2 separate regions of the Homo sapiens genome follow, and region 2 is linked to region 1. Evidence: promoter capture Hi-C in human tissues and cell types (Jung and others, 2019). All regions are on one chromosome and are shown on one strand. Each heading gives the region's core, a stretch centred on a gene start or on the middle of the fragment in contact. The rest is flanking DNA. Distances are from core to core; before and after follow the strand shown. Region 1 overlaps SIN3A (SIN3 transcription regulator family member A). Region 2 holds the start of LMAN1L (lectin, mannose binding 1 like).

Region 1 (7,105 bases), core at 2,832-5,331:
AACAAAAAATAAAATAAATAAATGCATACTCTTTTTTGCTTATTTTTAAATGCATATTCTTGAAACAATGGAAAGTTTCTCTTCAAAAGCAAACTTCCATCGCAGTATTAAGTCAATGTAAACTTCAACCCAGTGCAATTTTGAGTAGTCTAATTCAAAATTTGTCCAAAAGTCCACCTCTGGTTTTAAATCTGCTAAGAAAGAATCTATTACAGAATGAAAGGCACTCTATTTAGATTTCATATATTGATTAGAATTATTGCTTGGAAAAATTAACAACCAGCTCTTCTCAAAAGACACCATTAGATCTAATATCCAAGCCTCCTTTGAACTCAGTTTTTATATTCTTCTAATGCAGTGGTCCTCAACTAGGGGAGATTCTGCCTCCCAAGGGCACATGTAGTAATGATGGAAGACATTTTTGGTTGTCACAACTCGGGAAGATGGAATGCTACTGATATCTCACAGATAGAGTAAAAGGATGTTGTCAAACATCCTACAATGCACACGACAGTCTCCTCACAACAAATTATTTGGCCCAAAATGTCAACAGTGTGTGAAGACTGAGAAACCTAAGTTTAATCATAACCCCAACTGTCACATATCTTTTTTTTTTTTTTGAGACAGAGTCTTGCTCTGTCACCCAGGCTGGAGCGCAGTGGCGTGATCTTGGCTCACTGCAAGCTCCGCCTCCCAGGTTCATGCCATTCTTCGGCCTCAGCCTCCCAAGTAACTGGGACTACAGGCGCCTGCCACCACGCCTGGCTAATTTTTTTTTTGTATTTTTTAGTAGAGATGGGGTTTCACTGTGTTAGCCAGGATGGTCTCGATCTCCTGACCTCGTGATCCGCCCACCTCAGCCTCCCAAAGTGCTGGGATTACAGGCGTGAGCCACCGCACCCGGCCATCAATGCTTCTTTTACGGCATATGATACACCTTTAACCCGCATTATACCATTACGCATTGGCCAGACACTCTGACCTAAAGTTTTTTAGAACTCTTATCTTTTTTTACGCCTGGTCTCCTTTCGTCCCTCTCTTAGGCTTGATCTGTAAAACTCTTCTGACTCAAAATTTTAGAGCTTTTCTGATACCATAATGCTCATTAAATCTGTAAAAATTAAAAATAACGCCAAGTGTGGTGGCTCACGCCTGTAATCTCAGCACTTTGGGAGGCTGAGGCGGGCGGATCACCTGAGGTCAGGAGTTCAAGACCAGCCTGGTCAACATGGTGAAACCCCGTCTCTACTAAAAACACAAAAATTAGCTGGGCGTGGTAGCGGGCGCCTGTAATCCCAGCAACTTTGGAGGCTGAGGCAGGAGAATTGCTTGAACCTGGGAGGCGGAGGTTGCAGTGAGCCAAGATCACGCCAATGCACTCCAGCCTGGGCAACAGAGCGAGACTCCCTCTCAAAAATAAATAAATAAATAAATAACTTTAAAAAAACCCCATATCGTTATTACTTACTATTTTAACAAGAATGTAAGTAGCAAATTTGTTTTTTTTTTTGAGACACAGTCTTACTTTGTCACCCAGGCTGGAGTGCAGTGGTGCAATCTCAACTCACTGCAACCTCTGCCTCCCAGGTTCAAGCAATTCCTGTGCCTCAGCCTCCCAAAGCAGCTGGAATTACAGGTGTGTGCCACTACACCTGGCTAATTTTTGTATTTTTAGTAGAAAAGGGGTTTTGCCATGTTGGCCAGGCTGTTCTCAAACTCCTGACCTCAAGTGATCTGCCCGCTTCAGCCACCCAAAGTGCTGGGATTACAGGTGTGAGCCACCATGCCCAGCCTTAAGTAGCAAATCTAAATTTTTATTCCGTACTTTCCTGGACACTGGGAGATATAAATATCCAAAATGTGCAACATCCTTTAAAATGCAACCAAGTACTCATCAAATGTCATGCATGAACTTGGAACACAGCCATTCTATAAATTTTTTGTTTCTTTTAAGAAACAAGGGGTCGGGCGCGGTGGCTCATGCCTGTAATCCCAGCACTTTGGAAGGCCAAGGCAGGCGGATTACGAGGTCAGGAGATCGAGACCATCCTGGCTAACAAGGTGAAGCCCCGTCTTTACCAAAAATACAAAAAATTAGCCAGGCGTGGTGGCAGGCGCCTGTAGTCCCAGCTGCTCGGGAGGCTGAGGCAGGAGAATGGCGTGAACCTGGAAGGCAGAGCTTGCAGTGAGCTGAGATCGCGCCACTGCACTCCAGCCTGGGTGACAGAGCGAAGACTCTGTCTCAAAAAAAAAAAAAAAAAAAAGAACAAGAAAAAGAAACAGGGTTGGCCAGGTGCAGTGGCTCACGCCTGTAATCTCAGTACTTTGGGAGGCCAAGTCGGGTAGATCACGTGAGGTGAGGAGCTCAAGACCAGCCTAGCCAACATGGTGAAACCCCATCTCTACTAAAAATACAAAAAAATTAGCCGGGCATGGTGGCGTGTGCCTATAATCCCAGCTACTCAGGAAGCTGAGTCAGTAGAATTGCTTGAACTTGGGAGGTGGAGGTTGACCGAGATCTCGCCACTACACTCCAGCGTGGGCAACAGAGCCAGACTCCGTCTCAAAAAAACAAAAAACAAAATAAAAAAAAAACAGGGTCTTGCTCTATTGCCCAGGCTAGAGTACAGTGGCATGATCATAGCTCATTACAGACTGCTGGGCTCAAACAATCCTCCCACCTCAGCTTCCTAAGTAGCTGGGACTACAGAGTGGCTAATAAGAAAAAAATTTTTTTTAGAGACAGGGTCTCCCTACATTGCACAGGCCGGTCTTGAACTCCTGGCCACAAGCGATCCTCCTGCCTCAGCCTCCCGAGTAGCTGGTGTATACCACTACACTTGGCTTCCACTCTGTAAACAGGTACACACCACCACGCTTGGCTTCCATTTTGTAAATTTTGATTCCAGGTTTCAGGTACAGCTCTAGTAAGGTTCTAGCTTATCACCTCTGGGTCTTTTTTTCCCTTTCTGCCCATCAAATGAAATACTTTGAAAACTCACTTCATAATTTTGTTGGAGAGAACAGTCATCTTCTTTGCTCCATAATCATAAGCATTCTCATTTTTAGACTAATAAATGTCAATCAGAATGAACAATCCAGGCTGAGCGTGTGGCTCTTGCCTCTAATCCCAGCACTCTCAGAGGCCGAGGCGGGTGGATCACGAGGTCAGGAGATTGAGACCATCCTGGCTAAAACGGTGAAACCCCATCTGTACCAAAACTACAAAAAATTAGCTGGGTGCAGTGGCACGCACCCGTAGTCCCAGCTACTCGGGAGGCTGAGGCAGGAGAATCGCTTGAACCCAGGAGGCAGAGGTTGCAGTGAGCAAAGACCATGCCACTGCACTCCAGCCTGGGTAACAAGAGTGAGACTCTGTCTCAAAAAAAAAAAAAAAAAAAAAAAAAAAAAAAAACTGATTTTTTTTTTCATTTTTACATAATTTTTCCTTCTAACCATCTTTATACATATACGTAACTTTGGCACCTGTCCACTTACAAACTGCATCAACTAAGTTTTGGTGTACAAATATCTTGAAAGATGAAAGAATACTATCATACATCTTTTTGGCAAAGTGCAGTGGTTTTGATTGTTTTTTTTTTTCATTTCTTAAAAATAGAAATGGGGTCTCACTATGTTGCCCAGGCTGGTCTCGAACGTCTGGGCTCAAGCGATCCTCCCACCTCAGCCTCCCAAGAAGGTGGGATTGCAGGCATATGCCACTGCACCCAGCCCAGTTCTGATTCTTATAAAAAGAAAATCACATTCTAGCTGGATGCCTATAGTGCCAGTTACTTGGGGGAACTGAAGCAGGAGAACAGCTTGAGCTCAGGAATTTAAATCCAGCCTGGGCAACATAGTGAGATAGATCCCATCTTTAAAAAAAAAAAAAAAAAAAAAAAAATTCACCGCTGGGCATGGTGGCTCACGACTGTAATCCCAGCACTTTGGGAGGCCAAGGCAGGTGGATCACCTGAGGTTGGGAGTTCAAGACCAGCCTGACCAACATGGAGAAACCCCATCTTTTACTAAAAATACAAAAAATTAGCCAGGCATGGTGGTACATGCCTGTAATCCCAGCTACTTGGGAGGCTAAGGCAGGAGAATCCCTTGAACCCAGGAGGCGGAGGTTGCGGTGAGCCGAGATTGTGCCATGGCACTCTAGCCTGGGCAATAAGAGCAAAACTCTGTCTCAAAAAAAAAAAAAAAAAAAAAATCACATTCTAAACTCATCTAGGGTACAGTCACATATGTATATGGGTGGAGACAGAATCTTGCTATGTTGCCCAGCCTGGTTTTGAAGTACTGGGCTCAAGTGATCCTCCCATCTCAGCCTCCCGAGATGCTAGGATTACAGGTGCACGCCACCATGCCTGGCTGAAGACTCTTATTTTACAACTTGGTTTATATAACTTTACCGTCATCCTAACAGTCTAGAGTACTACTGTCACACAGCATTCATCTACTAGTTCCTCTGAAATGTCTTCTGTAGTCAGTTTTCTTCTCTTTGCCATTATAGGAGGAAGATGAAAAACTATGGATTTTTAAATATGTCCAATGAAAGCTTAAAAGTTGAAAAATAGTATAAAAATTACCATGTACTCCTTCACCTAGATTCTCCAAATGTTAACATCTTACATAATGTTTAAGATGGTATCTCCCAACTTCTTTTATACTTTCTTGAAAGATGCTGTAGGCTGGGCATGCTGGCTCATGCCTGGAATCCCAGCACTTTGGGAGGCTAAGGTGGGTGGATTGTTTGAGCCCAGGAGTTCGAGACTAGCCTAGACAACATGGCGAAACGTTCTCTCTACAAAAAAAATACAAAAATTAGCCAGGTGTGGTGGCACATGCCTGTAGTCCCAGCTACTTGGAGGGCTGAGGTGAGATTGCTTGAGTCTGGGAGGCGAAGGTTGCAGTGAACTGAGATTGCGCCACTGCACTCCAGCCTGGGTGACAGAGTGAGACCCTGTATCCAAAAAGAAAAAAAAAGTTGCTGTAAGTTTTGGGAAAAGCAATAAGAAAACTGAAGGGCTGCGGTGCACACCTATAGTCCCAGCTACCGAGGATGCTTAGGAGGGATGATCACTTGAGCCCAGAAGTTTGAGGCTGCAGAGAGCTATGATCATACCACTGCCCTTCGGCCTGGGCAACAAAGCGAGGCCCCATCTCTAAAAACTGAAGTGTAAAACTAATGATTTATTTCACTACTGCATATCCTTTTAAGCAATTCTATAATTCTCCCTTTGTCATATTATTTTAGTCCTCTTTAGCATATTTGAGAATTGATGAGTAATGATGAAATAATTCCTAGGATGATGAAATACCAAAACATTTCAATATACAGGAAAAATAAGATCAGTAAAACTCCACAACATTGTTTCGATGTACAAGTGGTAATAGCTAAAATGAGTTTATTCCTTTGGAAAAAAAATAAATTTTCAGGCTGGGCATGGTGACTCATGCCTGTAATCGCAGCACTTCGAGAGATAAGAAGTTTGAGGCCAGCCTGGCCAATATGGTGAAACCCCATTTCTACTAAAAATACAAAAATTAGCTGGGTATGGTGGTACACACCTGTAATCCCAGCTACTCGGGAGGTTGAGGCAGGAGAACCAGTTGAACCCAGGAGGCGGAGGTTGCAGTGAGCCAAGATCGCGCTACTGCACTCCAGCCTGGGGATGGAACAAGACCGCATCTCAAAAATAAAATTAAAAATAAAAATAAATTTTCTCTTTGCTGTTTTGAAGACCTCCAATAAATAAAAGTCATGAAATATACATCTTTACAAGTAGTTAGTACTGCTTTAAAAAAAAAAAGCAAAACTCAAAAACTAAAATTGAGTCCAGACCAGGTGCAGTGGCTCAGGCCTGTAATCCCAGCACTTTGGGAGGCCGAGGTGGGCAGACTGCTTGAGCCCAGGAGTTTGAGACCAATCTGGGCAATACAGACTTCGGTGACACTGATGTTACCCAGACATTTCTTACTACTGTAGGTAGAAAATGAACAGAAATTTAGTTAAATTCAAAATGTATTAATAATTGTTATCAATGTTGATTTTCTGATTTGATCACTGTATTGTGGTTTTAAAAGATGCACTTGGGGAATCTAGGTGAAGATTATAGGGCTATTATTTGTATTATTTTTGCAACTCTCTTTGAAGTCTAAAATTATTTCCAAAGAAAAAGTTTTTTAAAAATTAAGTATTAGGCCAGGCATGGTGGCTAACACCTGTAATCTCAGCACTTTGGGTGTCTGAGGCAGGTGGATTGCTTGAGTCCAGGAAGACCAGCCTGAGCAACATGGTAAGACCCTATCTCTATTTAATATAAGAAATATAATCTTTCAAAATATCTATAAGGCCAGGTGCAGTGGCTCATGCCTGTAATCCCAGCACTTCGGGAGGCCAAGGCAGGTGGATTGCCTGAGGCCAGGAGTTCAAGACAAGGCTGGTCAACGTGGTAAAACCCTGTCTCTACTAAAAATACAAAAAATTAGCCAGGCATGGTGGTGGCGCCTGTGATCCCAGCTACTCAGGAGGCTGAGACAGGAGAACTGCTTGAACCTGGGAAGGGGAGATTGCAGTGAGCTGAGATCGCGCTACTGTACTCCAGCCTGGGCGACAGAGCGAGACACTGTCTCAAAAAAAAAAAAAAAAAAAAAAAAATTAGCCAGGCATGGTGGTGGGTGCCTGTAATCCCAGCTACTCGGGAGGCTAAGGCAGAAGAATCACTTGAACCCAGGAGGTGGAGGTTGCAGTGAGCTGAGATTGTGCCAAGCCGAGATTGCACCACTGCACTCCAGCCTGGGAGACAGAGCAAAACTCCGTCTCAAAATAAATAAATAAATAAATAAATAGCTGGGTGTAGTGGCGCATGCCTGTAATCCCAGCTGCTCGGGAGGCTGAGGCAGGAGAATCACTTGAAGCTGGGTGTGTGTATGTGTGTGTGTGCAATGAGCCGAGATAGTACCACTGCACTCTAGCCTGGGCAACACAGTGAGACCTTGTCTCAAAAAAAAGAAAAAAAAAAAAAAAAAAGAAAGAAAGAAAAGAAAATAGAGCATTACAAAGAATAGAACTTGAGATAGTTCTTGAAAGGACAGG
Region 2 (7,105 bases), core at 2,739-5,238, 630 kb before region 1:
GCTGCTGTCCTATTGAGCTGAGCACTGTCTGCCAGGCCCTGTTCTAAATACGTTCCATGTAACTTTTCAAACAACTCTTGGAGGCATATACCATTAATGCTCCCATTTTACAGATAAGAAAACTAAGGCTTGGCAAGATTAAGGAACCAGGTAACACGGTATGAATGGCAAGAACAAATGTAAGAACCTGCCTATGGCTAGATGTGGGGATGAGGCAGAGGGAAGGATATGGGAGCAGTTCCACTCTCTGGTGTAAGGGGGCGGTGCCACCTGGGAGACCTGAGGCCTGGAGGAGGATGAAGGGGCTGGAGAAGAGGAATTCAGTTTGGAATTCCTGGGGGCCTTAGTGACATCCAAGCAGAGATGTCCGCTGCAGAGAGACACATTCATTCAAGTCTTCCAGGAGAGGCTGGCTAGAAGTAGATTTGAGAGTGTGCACAGGGATGTGCTTGAAGTCATGGGCATGGAGGAGCTTGGTCAGGGAGTGTGGGGTTGAGGAGAAGCAAGCCCTGAGGCTTATGGGGGTAGGGAGGGAGAGCAGCTGGCAAGGGATTAGTGAAGGGAGCAGCCAGGGGCAGGGGGAGAAGCAGGTGGGCCTTGGGGGGACTCAGGGTACAGGAGGGGTCGGGGAGAGCAGGTGGATGTCAGCAGCATTTCAAGCGGCAGAGACTGGGTTGAGAAGAGTCTCCTAGGACCAAAGAACAGGCATAGCTGCTCAGGCCTTTGCGAGGGCGTTTTCCATGGAGTGGTGGGGACAGGATCGGGAAGCCAAGGGCTTGAGGATCCAGTGGGCTTGAGGGGCTTGAGGATCCAGTGAGGAGGCGGGGACAGAATGGACAACCTGTCCACCAGTGTGGCTGTGAAGGGAGGAGGAGCAGATGGAGGCAGGTGAGGGCTTGGTGTTGCAAAATGCTTTTTTTTTTTTTTTTTTGAGACAGAGATTCACTCTTGTCGCCCAGGCTGGAGTGCAATGGCGCGATCTTGGCTCACTGCAACCTCTGCCTCCTGGGTTCAAGCGATTCTCCTGCCTCAGCCTCTTGAGTAGCTCAGATTACACGCCTGGCTAATTTTGTATTTTTAGTAGAGATGGGGTTTCACCATGTTGGTCAGGCTGGTCTTGAACTCCCAACCTCAGGTGATCCGCCTACCTCGGCCTCCCGAAGTGCTGGGATTACAGGTGTAAGCCACTGCACCTGGCCTGTGAAATGATTTCTCATAGCATGTTCTAACATTTCACATGTACAACTTTGATTTTAATCCATTTGTAAAGCTTCAGTCACTGACTCCTATTGGGAACCTCCAAAGCACAGTAAAATTTCAGCTATCCAGGATTCTTGGCAAATGAGTCATTCTGGAAAACCAACTTTTATTTGGATGAAAATATTTGAAATATAGGATTTCTTTCTTTCTAAAAAAAATTTTTAATGAAAATTTTCAAATATATAAAAATAGGCCAGTGTTGTGGCTCACACCTGTAATCCCAGCACTTTGGGAAGCCAAGGCAGAAGGATCACTTGAAGCCAGGGGTTCAAGACCAGCCTGGGCAACAAAACAAGACCCCCATCTCTACAAAAATAAAAATTAAAAAATTAGCTGGGGGCTGGGCGCTGTGGCTCATGCCTGTAATCCCAGCACTTTGAGAGGCTGAGGTGGACGGATCACCTGAGGTGAGGAGTTCGAGACCAGCCTGATCCAAAATGGTGAAACCCTGTCTCTACTAAAAATACAAAAATTGGCCAGGCGCGGTGGCTCACACCTGTAATCCCAGCACTTTGGGTGGCTGAGGCGGGTGGATCACGAGGTCAGGAGATCAAGACCAACCTGGCAAACACTGTGAAATGCTGTCTCTACTAAAAATACAAAAAAATTAGCTGGGCGTGGTGGCAGGCGCCTAGTAGTCCCGGCTACTCTGGAGGCTGAGGCAGGAGAATGGCATGAACCCGGTGGGGGCAGAGCTTGCAGTGAGCGGAGACTGTGCCACTGCACTCCAGCCTGGGCAACAGAGGGAGACTCCATCTCAAAAAAAAAAAAAAAAAATACAAAAATTAGCCGGGCATGGTGGTGGGTTGGTGGGTGCCTGTAATCCCAGCTACTCAGGAGGCTGAGGCAGGAGAATCGCTTGAACCTGAGAGGAGGAGGTTGCAGTCAACCGAGATCCCGCCACTGCACTCCAGCCTGGGTGACAGAGTGAGACTTCGTCTCAAAAAAAAAAAAAAAAAAAAATTAGCTAGCAAGGCACGGTAGTGTGTGCCTGTAGTCCCAGCTCCTCTACAATCCTGCCATTGCACTTCAGTCTGGGTGACAGTGAGACCCTGTTTCAAAAAATAATAAAAGTAGAAGATATAAGGAACCCCTGCATCCCGCCATCCAGCTTCAGCACTTACCAACTCAAGGTCAATTCTGTCTCATCTCTACCCCACCTGCTCACCAACAAGCCCTGGAATATTTTGAAGCAAATCCCCGATGTTACAGCAATTCATCTGTAAAGCTTTTGTATGTTTCTCCAAAAGACACTTTAAAAACATAACCACAAGCCAGGCGTGGTGGCTCATGCCTTTATTTCCAGCTATTCAGGAGGCAGGAGGATCCTTTGAGCCCAGAAGTTTGAGTCCATCCTTGGTAACATAGGAAGACACCACCTCTCAAAAAAAAAAAAAAAGGCCAGGCGCAGTGGCTCACGCCTGTAATCCCAACACTTTGGGAGGCCAAGTCAGGCGGATCACGAGGTCAGAAGATCGAGACCACCCTGGTTAACACGGTGAAATCCCATCTCTACTAAAAAATACAAAAAATTAGCCAGGCATGGTGGCGGGCACCTGTAGTCCCAGCTACTTGGGAGGCTGAGGCAGAAGAATGGTGTGAACCCGGGAGGCAGAGCTTGCAGTGAGCCAAGATCGCGCCACTGCACTCCAGCCCGGGCGATAGAGCGAGACTCCGTCTCAAAAAATAAATAAATAAAATAAAATAAAAAATAAAAAACATAACCACAATACCATATTAGTTCTCAATTTTTTTTTTCGAAATGGATTTTTGCTCTTATCACCCAGGCTGGAGTGCAATGGTGCAATCTCCGCTCACTACAATCTCTGCCTCCCAGGTTCAAGTGATTCTCCTGCCTCAGCCTCCCAAGTAGCTGGGATTACAGGCATGCACCACCAGGCCTGGCTAATTTTTTGTATTTTTTTTTAGTAGAGACAGAGTTTCACAATGTTGGCCAGGCTGGTCTCGAACTCCTGACCTCAGGTGATCCACCTGCCTTGGGCTCCCAAAGTGCTAAGATTACAGACATGAGCCACAGTGCCCTAAAATTTTTAACAATTCCTCAATATAGTCAAATATCCATTGTTCAAAAATATCCATTGTTCAAATTTCCCCAATATCTTTTTTTTTTTTTGCAGTTGGGTTAAAATTTGGCTCCAAACAAGGTCTGCACGTTGCGTTTTTGTGCTGTCTCTAAAGACTCCCTTCTTTTTTCCATGTAATGCTTTTGTTGAGGAAACCAGGCTGCTTGGAAGGATGAGCCTGGGGGAATTCGGGAGAGGGAGAGAGGGGGCAGGGAGGAGAGAAGGATGGGTGTCCAGATAGATGTGCCATCCATGCTGGGGGACACAGGCAGAATGTGGAGGCCTGTCTCCCTAACTGGGAGGGGAGGCCAGGGCTGCTGAAGGGTGGGGGCCAACCCTGGGCACCCCCCCTTCCCCTCTGCCGCATCCAACTGCTGGAAGTGATGGGAGACAGAAAGATGGCCTGAGTCAGGAGCAGGGGCAGAGCTCAGGTTGTCGTGGGGTCCCGCTGCCCACGTCAGACTGGAGGTGAGGGATGGGCGGGGCCTGACAGCAGGCCTGGAAGGAACAGGATGTCTATGCTGGAGATAGAGGGAGAGGACAGTGCCAAAACCCAGCTCCTGGCCAGTCCCCAGCTCCTCCCTGCCTGGCCCTATCCCAGGATCCCCTCCCCGGCCTCCCAGCTATGATCTACCCCGGGGCCCAGACTTCAGGCGCCTTCACGATGCCGGCGGTCAGTGGTCCAGGTCCCTTATTCTGCCTTCTCCTCCTGCTCCTGGACCCCCACAGCCCTGAGACGGGGTGTCCTCCTCTACGCAGGTTTGAGTACAAGCTCAGCTTCAAAGGCCCAAGGCTGGCATTGCCTGGGGCTGGAATACCCTTCTGGAGCCATCATGGAGGTGAGGGGCAGGGGTGGGGACCAGCTATGCCCAGGGTCCCTCAAAGTGCTGGAGGGGCTGTGACTTGGTGGGGAGTGGGTCTGTCACAGCCATCCTCTGTCCAGGGTGGGGCAAGGCCTGGGACAGTGCCAGGCACCCCAGGACCCCTTCCAGGCTTGTCTCCTGCTCCACCGCCTCAACACCCCCCACCCCTGCCCAAGCTGTTTCTCCTCTGCCTCTCTGCTTCCCTGCCCCAGGACTTCTCTCTTCTCCTCTGCCTCTCCTTGGACCCCTGCCCTTCCTCTACCTCTGACCTGTGAACACACAGACACATGCTCACACACTAAGTCCCAGGCACACAGAAGGCAATGTGGACCAGCACAAACCTCCACTCTCCCGGCTCCATCCCAGCGGGCCTGTGGCTGGCCATGAGAACTGGGGGCTACCTGGAGGGAAGCATCCTCATCCCAGGTGAGTGGGCACCAGCCCTTCCCTGTATGTGTGTTGTGGGTGGAAGCAGGCATGAGAGCATCTTAGCCCATAGGTTTGTATTCAGGGACTTCCAAACCCAGACCTACAAAGAGTGTGTCTTCTACCAGATCTTGTTCAAAAAAGGGTTTGTGATGATGGAACTACACGATAGAGGGAGTGAGCAAGAACAATGAGGATTAGAGTGGAGCGTGAAATAGTCTAGGAGCATGGCTTCCAAAACATATGCTGTGAGGTCTGTCCACCTGAGAGTTGGGCCATGGATTTAATTCTGAGCCTCTTAGCAGGCAAAGCAAAGACAGAAAGCAGATCGGCTGTGGATTTCTGTCTATAAAATGTGAGTTCTTGGCCAGGTGCAGTGGCTCACGCCTGTAATCCCAGCACTTTGGGAGGCCAAGGCGGATGAATCACGAGGTCAAGAGGTTGAAAACCATCCTGGCCAAAATGGTGAAACCCTGACTCTACTAAAAATACAAAAATTAGCTGGGTGTGGTGGCGTGCGCCTGTAGTCCCAGCTCCTCAGGAGGCTGAGGCAGGAGAATTGCTTGAACCTGGGAGGCCAAGGTTGCAGTGAGCTGAGATCCTGCCATTGCACTTCAGCCTGGGCACAGAGCCAGACTCTGGCTCAAAAAAAAAAAAAAAAAAGATGTGAGTTCTGAGAAATGGCACGATTCCTAACTAAAGCCAGGACAAAATATCCCTTTTTTTTTTGTGAGATGGAGTTTCACTCTTGTTGCCCAGGCTGGAGTGCAGTGGTGTGATCTTGGCTCACTGCAACCTTCACCTCCCAGATTCAAGTGATTCTCCTGCCTCAGCCTCCTGAGTAGCTGGGATTACAGGTGTGTGCCACCACACGCAGCTAATTTTTGTTTTTGTTTTTGTTTTTTTTTTTTTGAGACGGAGTCTCGTTCTGTTGCCCAGGCTGGAGTGCAGTGGCGTGATCTCGGCTCACTGCAAGCTCCACCTCCTGGGTTCATGCCATTCTCCTGCCTCAGTCTCCCGAGTAGCTGGGACTACAGGTGCCTGCCACCACCCCCAGCTAATTTTTTGTACTTTTAGTAGAGATGGGGTTTCACCTTGTTAGCCAGGATGGTTTCGATCTCCTGACCTCGTGATCCGCCCGCCTTGGCCTCCCAAAGTGCTGGGATTACAGGCGAGCCACCGCGCCCAGCCTAATTTTTGTATTTTTTAAGTAGAGACGGGTTGTCACCATGTTGGCCAGGCTGGTCTTGAACTACTGACCTCAGATGATCCGCCTGCCTCGGCTTCCCAAAGTGCTGGGATTATAGGCATGAGCCACCGCGCCCAGCCCAAAATATTCCTTTAAGATGATAGGCCCTGTCAGTAGGGTTTCTTCCAGTCCTCCTTCATAGAGACACAGGAGGTAACAAAAAGGTGGGCTGTTTCTCACAGCACCAAGCTGGGCCCTGCTTCAGGACCAGGATGGCAAAACTTATACAACACTCACTGCTATGGGCCTTGCCAAATCTGGGTGTCACAGATCATGTGAGGGAGCAGAGGCACCTTCTCCAAGATCACCCAGTGATGTGTGCATTGTCTGTTCATTCATTCGTTCACCCTGATGTTCCTCTGTGCCCAGCCCAGAGATACCAGGCAGAGTGAGGCTGAAGGAGCCCATGGTCTGGGGCAAGGTCTCACCCACAGGCCTTGTAAGGCTGAAAGCCTTCTGCAAGGATTTCAGAGGCAGTGACAGCTTCCAGAGGCCCTGGGACTTGTGGCCTTGCAGCTCTGAGCCTCCCTACCCCCATCCCTGGCCTTTATAGAGCAAACAGGCTGGATTAGCTGCCTCCAGAACGTCCTGGCAGAGTCTGGGCCCTGGGCCAGGTTCCAGGCTGGCAGGTTGGAGGGTGGGGAGCGAGCTCGAGTAGGGCCTCTGAGTTCCCTGCCCCCAGTTCCTGCCAAGACTGCCTCAGTTTCTCTCCCATTCCTTTTTCCTACCATGCAGGGCTCCTTCCTCCCCGCCCCACCACCGCCAGTGGCAATTCTCACACACATACTCCATCCTGCATTCTTTCATCGCAGTCCTGTGGGCCGGTTCTCACCTTCACATCTTTGCTTTCCTGCTTTCCTCACCTTGGAATGCCCCCTAGGTCCTGTCCACCAGGAAGCTCTGGCCTCATTTGGCCACAGCCTAGAGTCTTGGGCCTTCTTGCAGTTACTCCCTCCTAAAGTGCTCTCCTGTGTTCTGTGGTCTCAGGCACTTCCTTTTTTGTCACAAGGCCTCAGTTTCGTCATCTGAGAAATGGGAAGGGTTAGACACAAATCTCTCTCGTGGTGGAAAAAGCTTGTGCTTTGGAGTCATATGGAGCTGAATTCCATCCAATCCACTTAGTTCCTTAACTTTTATGAGCCTCACCTTCCTCATCTGTTAGATGGGGTCTTATAAAAACAGACAGCACACACTGCGGTGAGGCTTCACTGACGACGTGGATG

What was found. The method cuts DNA at HindIII sites, captures the fragments that hold promoters and counts their contacts. A contact is called where the count stands out against the background at its distance.
Region 2: a contact is called between the fragment with the promoter of LMAN1L here and a fragment that was not itself captured in region 1, in 1 of the 25 tissues and cell types used here (dorsolateral prefrontal cortex).

Annotation. Positions count from the first base shown.
Region 1 is chr15:75,438,739-75,445,843 of GRCh38, forward strand. All of the region lies in intron 1 of SIN3A (SIN3 transcription regulator family member A), which reads right to left. Among named protein-coding and RNA genes, the nearest start is that of SIN3A, 9.4 kb to the right of the region's middle. RefSeq lists a silencer at 2,265-2,414. The HindIII fragment of the contact is 9,103 bases long and covers 1-7,105 here.
Region 2 is chr15:74,808,847-74,815,951 of GRCh38, forward strand. LMAN1L (lectin, mannose binding 1 like) reads left to right here and starts at 3,989. Exons shown (of 14, transcript NM_021819.3): 1 at 3,989-4,183. The coding sequence starts at 4,009. The HindIII fragment of the contact is 6,905 bases long and covers 1,880-7,105 here.